Regions from separate parts of the Homo sapiens genome. Here region 2 is linked to region 1. The links are contacts of gene promoters, found by promoter capture Hi-C in blood cells and fetal thymus (Javierre and others, 2016). All regions are on one chromosome and are shown on one strand. Each heading gives the region's core, a stretch centred on a gene start or on the middle of the fragment in contact. The rest is flanking DNA. Distances are from core to core; before and after follow the strand shown.

The links. Contacts are between HindIII fragments. The CHiCAGO score rates a contact against its expected background, and 5 or more counts as called.
Region 2: a fragment that was not itself captured here is called in contact with the fragment with the promoter of SETD5 in region 1 in 2 of 17 cell types (total B cells and fetal thymus); the score reaches 7.3 in total B cells.

What each region holds. Positions count from the first base shown.
Region 1 is chr3:9,396,148-9,399,502 of GRCh38, reverse strand. It overlaps SETD5 (SET domain containing 5), which reads right to left and starts at 1,888. Exons shown (of 23, transcript NM_001080517.3): 1 at 1,526-1,888. THUMPD3-AS1 (THUMPD3 antisense RNA 1) reads left to right here and starts at 2,880. Exons shown (of 4, transcript NR_132781.1): 1 at 2,880-2,943. RefSeq lists an enhancer at 1,021-1,070 and a silencer at 1,681-2,990. The HindIII fragment of the contact is 6,018 bases long and covers 1-3,355 here.
Region 2 is chr3:14,945,316-14,948,670 of GRCh38, reverse strand. NR2C2 (nuclear receptor subfamily 2 group C member 2) reads right to left here and starts at 1,088. Exons shown (of 14, transcript NM_001291694.2): 1 at 765-1,088. FGD5-AS1 (FGD5 antisense RNA 1) reads left to right here and starts at 230. Exons shown (of 2, transcript NR_046251.1): 1 at 230-658; 2 at 2,517-3,355. RefSeq lists silencers at 26-85, 476-895, 916-985, 1,036-1,465 and enhancers at 226-425, 1-559, 1,248-1,937. The HindIII fragment of the contact is 2,676 bases long and covers 186-2,861 here.

The DNA.
Region 1 (3,355 bases), core at 639-3,138:
CAGAATTTTTGGCTACAGAAGAGAACTAATGATCCTGAGAAAACTGGAAGAAATCCAATAGAAAAAAAAAAGCCCTACGTCCTCTATGGAGCCCAGAAACCTCTGATTACGTGGGTATTCTCTGCTTTAGTCCTAGCTCAGATCCCACACATCTAAAATTACCACTTAGAACTTTCTGTGACCTAAAAACATTAATAATATAAAATTAACAACCAAAAAATAATTTCAAATAGGGAGTACACACTCTCCTAAAAAGCTCAGCACACTCCACTCAGCTGGATCCTCCCCAATCACAAGTATAGCTATGTAACATCTGTCCAACAAAGAAATGTAAATATGACCTTGGTCACAAATATGTCATCTAAAAACTTGTTTAGTCAACTGATGAAGGTAATTAGCACAGAACTTGGGGATTCGTTCAGTACCTATGTGCAGGAAGGAAACTGGAGAAATGAACTTAAATATAGACAAAGCCCAGTGGAACCCAGAGGTCTGGGAAAGAAATGAGTTACCGGTGAATACATTGCACAAGTAACATGAGAAAGCAGAAAATGCAGGTCATACACGCACCCCTGACCCAGACCAGCAGAGCTGACTGCAGCATCCATATCCAAGAGAAAGACCACTGACGCCCAAGAAGTGAGACAAGCAAGGACTCTATAGAATCAATTAGCATAGAAGGGGCTTTCCCAACAGTTTAACTTTCCCTCTCATGCGATTTACCTACTTGAACCAGGGCTCTTTCCTACACTCCTCTTCACATTCCCGACTTACACGCAGAGGGAAAGAGAATTCATAAAGGGAATATTTTTCTGCCTTTGAAGATATTCTCACAAGATCGTTCTCCACGCCCAAGGCAAGTAAAACGACACAATCTGGCTCAACTCCAGGCTCGAACCCTACACATTCAACGAGGCTATCTCAGACACGCTGTGGCACACGCCACGGGGAGCCAGAGAACGTGTGGTGGGGGTGGCGAAGGTAATGCCTTTGGGAAGCAGCCATCTGAGGTGGGAAGCCAGAAAACGAGAGGGAAGGCGTCCAGGAAGATTACGGAGGGGAGATCGCGGCCCCCAGAGCGATCAGAGTTGTCTGTCACAAGGCCGCGAGAACGGGGGTAGGGAGTGGGGGATCGGGGAGAGAAAAAAAGTATGCCTGTGTATTTCGAGCGGAGGGCAGCAAGAGGCCTCTCCTCAAGGGAAAGGTAAACGTGGAGTAGGCAGTTCCCAGGAAAGGGGGTGAAGAGGCGTTGGGGGAGGGGAAGCGTCCTGACCCAGGAAAAACATGAAAGGGGGAGTTGGGTCGCCTAGATTAGAGGGGGATCTCTCTCCCTGGGAAAATGGGGTGTTGCAACGGTGTGTGCAAGGCGGCGAGGGGGGTGAGAAGTGGCAGCATCCTCCTAAGAGCTTGGGGAGGGCCAGGCCCACGACCCAAGGAGAGCGAGCGCGGGGAGACGGAGGAGGTGACCCTTCCCTCCCCTGGGGCCCGATCGTGAGGTTCGGTCTCTTTTCTGTCGGACCCTTACCTTGTCCCAGGCGCTGCCGGGGCCTGGGCCCGGGCTGCGGCGCACGGCACTCCCGGGAGGCGGCAGGACTCGAGTTAGGCCCAACGCGGCGCCACGGCGTTTCCTGGCCGGGAATGGCCCGTACCCGTGAGGTGGGGGTGGGGGGCAGAAAGGCGGAGCGAGCCAAAGGCGGGGAGGGGGGGCAGGGCCAGGGAAAGAGGGGGGCCGGCACTACTGTGTTGGCGGACTGGCGGGACTGGGGCTGCGTGAGTCTCTGAGCGCAGGCGGGCGGCGGCCGCCCCTCCCCCGGCAGCGGCGGCGGCGGCGGCGGCGGCGGCGGCGGCGGCAGCTCACTCAGCCCGCTGCCCGAGCGGAAACGCCACTGACCGCACGGGGATTCCCAGCGCCGGCGCCAGGGGCACCCGGGACACGCCCCCTCCCGCCGCGCCATTGGCCTCTCCGCCCACCGCCCCGCACCCATTGGCCCACTCGCCGCCAATCAGCGGAAGCCGCCGGGGCCGCCTAGAGAAGAGGCTGTGCTTCGGCGCTCCGGCTCCTCAGAGAGCCTCGGCTAGGTAGGGGAGCGGAACTCTGGTGGGAGGGGAGGTGCGGTACACTGGGGGGATGGGTGGCTAGGGGGGCCGTCTGGTGGCTTGCGGGGGTTGCCTTTCCCGTGGGAAGTCGGGAACATAATGTTTGTTACGTTGGGAGGGAAAGGGGTGGCTGGATGCAGGCGGGAGGGAGGCCCGCCCTGCGGCAACCGGAGGGGGAGGGAGAAGGGAGCGGAAAATGCTCGAAACCGGACGGAGCCATTGCTCTCGCAGAGGGAGGAGCGCTTCCGGCTAGCCTCTTGTCGCCGATTGGCCGTTTCTCCTCCCGCCGTGTGTGAAAACACAAATGGCGTATTCTGGTTGGAGTAAAGCTCCTGTCAGTTACGCCGTCGGGAGTACGCAGCCGCTTAGCGACTCTCGCGTTGCCCCCTGGGTGGGGCGGGTAGGTAGGTGGGGTGTAGAGATGCTGGGTGTGCGGGCGCGGCCGGCCTCCTGCGGCGGGAGGGGAGGGTCAGTGAAATCGGCTCTGGCGCGGGCGTCCTCCCACCCTCCCCTTCCTTCGGGGGAGTCGGTTTACCCGCCGCCTGCTTGTCTTCGACACCTGATTGGCTGTCGAAGCTGTGGGACCGGGCCCTTGCTACTGGCTCGAGTCTCACATGAGCGAAACCACTGCGCGGGGCGCGGGGGTGGCGGGGAGGCGGGCGTTGGTACGGTCCTCCCCGAGGCCGAGCGCCGCAGTGTCTGGCCCCGCGCCCCTGCGCAACGTGGCAGGAAGCGCGCGCTGGAGGCGGGGGCGGGCTGCCGGCCGAGACTTCTGGATGGCGGCGGCCGCGGCTCCGCCCCGGGTTCCCACCGCCTGAAGGGCGAGACAAGCCCGACCTGCTACAGGCACTCGTGGGGGTGGGGGAGGAGCGGGGGTCGGTCCGGCTGGTTTGTGGGTGGGAGGCGCTTGTTCTCCAAAAACCGGCGCGAGCTGCAATCCTGAGGGAGCTGCGGTGGAGGAGGTGGAGAGAAGGCCGCACCCTTCTGGGCAGGGGGAGGGGAGTGCCGCAATACCTTTATGGGAGTTCTCTGCTGCCTCCCGTCTTGTAAGGACCGCCCTGGGCCTGGAAGAAGCCCTCCCTCCTTTCCTCCTCGCGTGATCTCGTCATCGCCTCCATGTCGAGTCGCTTCTCGATTATGGGCGGGATTCTTTTGCCTAGGCTTAAGGGGCTAACTTGGTCCCTGGGCGTTGCCCTGCAGGGGAGTGAGCAGCTGTAAGATTTGAGGGGCGACTCCGATTAGTTTATCTTCCCACGGA
Region 2 (3,355 bases), core at 274-2,773, 5.5 Mb before region 1:
AGCCCACCTGCTGACCCAAGACCAGGCGCCGGCCTCTCCACCCGGCCGCGCCCCTCGCGCCCCGCCCCCGGCCCCGCCCCCGCCGACCCGGCCCCACTCTTCGCCCCGGCCTCTACTCCCGCCCCGCCAGGGCTCCCGCGCCCCATAAGGACCACCCTCTTCCGCCTCAGCCAATCAGCAAAGCTTAGGGGGGCGGTGCCACAGGCCCCGGCCCTCCTATCTGGGCGCCAATTAGCCAGCCCATCCGTCGCTCACGAGGTCGCGCCTCGCACCCGCCTTCCTCCTTTTCTTTTACCCTCCCCTTCAGAAAAAACGGCGGTTGGGCTGCGACGGCCGCCAAAGGCGGACTAGAAGCGGAGGGGTGAAAATCCCGGCAGAGAAGGAAGAAGGGACTGCAGGCGGGAGGAGGAGGAGGATAAGGAGGAAGGGAGCCCGCCCAGCCGGAGCCATCTCCGTCGAGAACAAAATGGCGGCGCTGGCGGAGGGCCAACTATAAGGCGGGGCCGCGGCCATTCCCCCTCCACCCCCACCCTTGCGCCGGCCGGGCCGGTCAGGGGGAACCCGCTCGCTTCGCCCGGCCGCGGGCGGGGAGGGGAGGGGAGCGGCCCGGCCCACTATGCAAAGCGCCGGGCGCCGCCGCCGCCACCCCGTGGCAAAGGTAAAAGGGTCGGGTTCAGCCGCCGCCGCGGCGCCTCCATGTCCGCGCGCCAGGCCCGCCCCCTCCGCCGCCGGCCCGAGCCCGCCCGACCCTCTTTCAATTTTACCTCAGGATTTGGCGCCAAAGCGGCCTCGAAGCGGGTCCCGTGTCTGCGGCGGGCGGCCCCCGGCGCGGAGGGCAGGGCGCGGGGAGCCCGGGCTCCCGGTGTCGGCGGATGGCGGGAGCCCGGGGGCCGCGGGCTCGCGGGGCAGCGGGCGAGAGACGAGACGCCGAGGTGGGAGCGGGGTGGCGGGGACGGGCCCGGGGGCGCCGCCGGGGTCGCGGAGAAGGGGGGGTTTGTTATTGTTTTTGTCAGTGAAAGGTCAGAGTTCGTGACCCCGGTGCCGCCGCCGCCGCCGCCCGCGCGCTGGTAGGAGGAGGGCGAATGTTCTTCTTCCTCTTCCCAGCGCCAGCCTCGCCGCCGCGGCGGGGGGCGGGCGAGAACGCGATTGGCTGAGGCGCGCGCGCGCACCGGAACGCCGCAGCCGGCGCTCGGTCCATCCGGCCCGTGGGCTGTGGGGCCCCGGGCGGCGGCGGCTACGTAGCTGCCGCCGGCCTTGGCCGCGGCCGGGCGGGCGGATATGTGGCTTAAATGGCGCAGGCGTCGGGGCCTAGAGGCTGAAGGGCTGGTCGTCCTAAAAACTCGTGGACGTCGCGCACGGTTACCCGGACGCAGGCCCGCCCCTCTGGGGAACCGCGAGCTCCTCGCAGCTGGGTGGGGACCGTCCTCGCAGTGGCGGCCTCCACCCTGCCTTCTCGCTTAGCCAAGGCTTCTGGAAGGCTCGCAAAGTGTCTGTTGTTGGAAGAAGCCGGGCCCTGACTGGCGCGACGGATTCTCCCAGCCGCTCAGCAGAGCGTCTGTAGGTCGGAAGTGGGGGTTGTATTGGGTGGGTATTGAGCTCTTCGGCCCTTCCTCGGTACTGATAGTTTTTAATTTAGGTTTTAAAGGTCTAAAGATGCGCCCGTTCTGGCCATCTCAGGTGAAATGTTGAAACGCCCCAGAACCTATAATTTTTGGTTTCTTAGTAAACATACGATCCAGATCTTGTGTAATTCCATGCCCCTCCTCCTCGAAATTTGGAAGTAGTACATGGTAATAGGGATGTGTAAAGCAGCTTTTAGCAGCATTGCTTAAATTTATTTGAAGAAATTGGCCTGTCTTGCTCTTAAACTCTTGGGCTGTAGGTTTTCCTTACATATTTCTCTGTTTTATGTCGTGGTTTTGACTTGCCTGGGAAGGTGCAGGCGCTTATTTATCCTAAATGCCCTGAAGTGTTTAGGCTACAGGCTGTAGATCTTATACTGATTTTTTTTCTTCAGTTTTCTTGCTTATTAAGAATAAATATTGACTCCAGAATGGATGGGTTAACTTTTTTTCCCACACAGTATCCATTTGGGTTTTTATCAGGATGACTCCAACATTTAGTATTTTTTTTTCCATAATCTTATAATATTTCTATTTGGTAAAAAATGTTTTAAACACAGCTATTTCCCCTTCCTCCTTTTTCTGACGTTGCAAAATTGGGAAAAGAGCTAGGTTCGTTTTGTCATGGTAAAGCACAGCTCTTGAAATTGGAAGAGGCCTTAAGGGAATGTGGTCAAATTTTTTTCTTGCAGAAAGATTTTCCGATTTTAGGGGTGAAGTGGGTGAGAACTAGAAAGGTCAAGTGATGTACCTGAGAGGCAAAAGCAATTGCGTTTTTGCATTTTTGAAATTTGCTGTTTGATATTGGAATACATTCTTAAATAAATGTGGATCATTTTAATGCACATTTCTCACTTTATTTTTTTGCTAATGACTTATTGCTGTTTATTTTAGAATATGCTTTTTGTCTAATGATGTTAGATAAAAAGCAAATTTGGAGCAGTTTTCTTATTCGAGTTCAAAATGGTTCATAAAGCAGCGAAGACAACTCAAAACATCAGTAACACATTTGGCCCAGGAACTGCTAACAAACATACAGTGCAGTGGTGGCTTAAGAAGTTTTGCAAGGAAGAGAGCCTTGAAGATGAGGAACGTGATATGGGCCATGGGAAGTTGACAACGACCAATTGAGAGCAATCATTGAACTACATGAAAAATTACAGAAGAACTCAGCGTTGACTATTCTACGGTCATTAGGGTCGTTCAGCATTCGAAGCAAATTGGAAAGGTGAAAAAGCTTGATAAGTGGGTGCCTCATGAGCTGAGCGGAAATCAAAACTATCGTTTTGAAGTGTAGTCTTCTTTTATGCTACGCAACAACAAACCATTTCTCAATCGGATTGTGACATGTAATGAAAAGTGAATTTTATACAACAACCAGCTCAGTGGTTGGACCAAGAGGCAGCTCCAAAGCAGTTCCCAAAGCCAAACTTGCACCAAAAAAAAGGTCATGGTCACTGTTCGGTGGTCTGCTGCCCATCTGATCCACTACAGTTTTCTGAATCCTGGTGAAACCATTACATCTGAGAAGTATGCTCAGCAAATTGGTAAGATGCACCGAAAACTGCAATACCTGCTGCCTGCATTGGTCAACAGAAAGGGCCCAATTCTTCTCCACGACAACACCTGACTGCGTGTCGCACAACCAGTGCTTCAAAAGTTGAAGGAATTGGGCTACAAAGTTTTGCCTCATCCACCATATTCACCTGACCTTTCGCCAACTGACTACCACT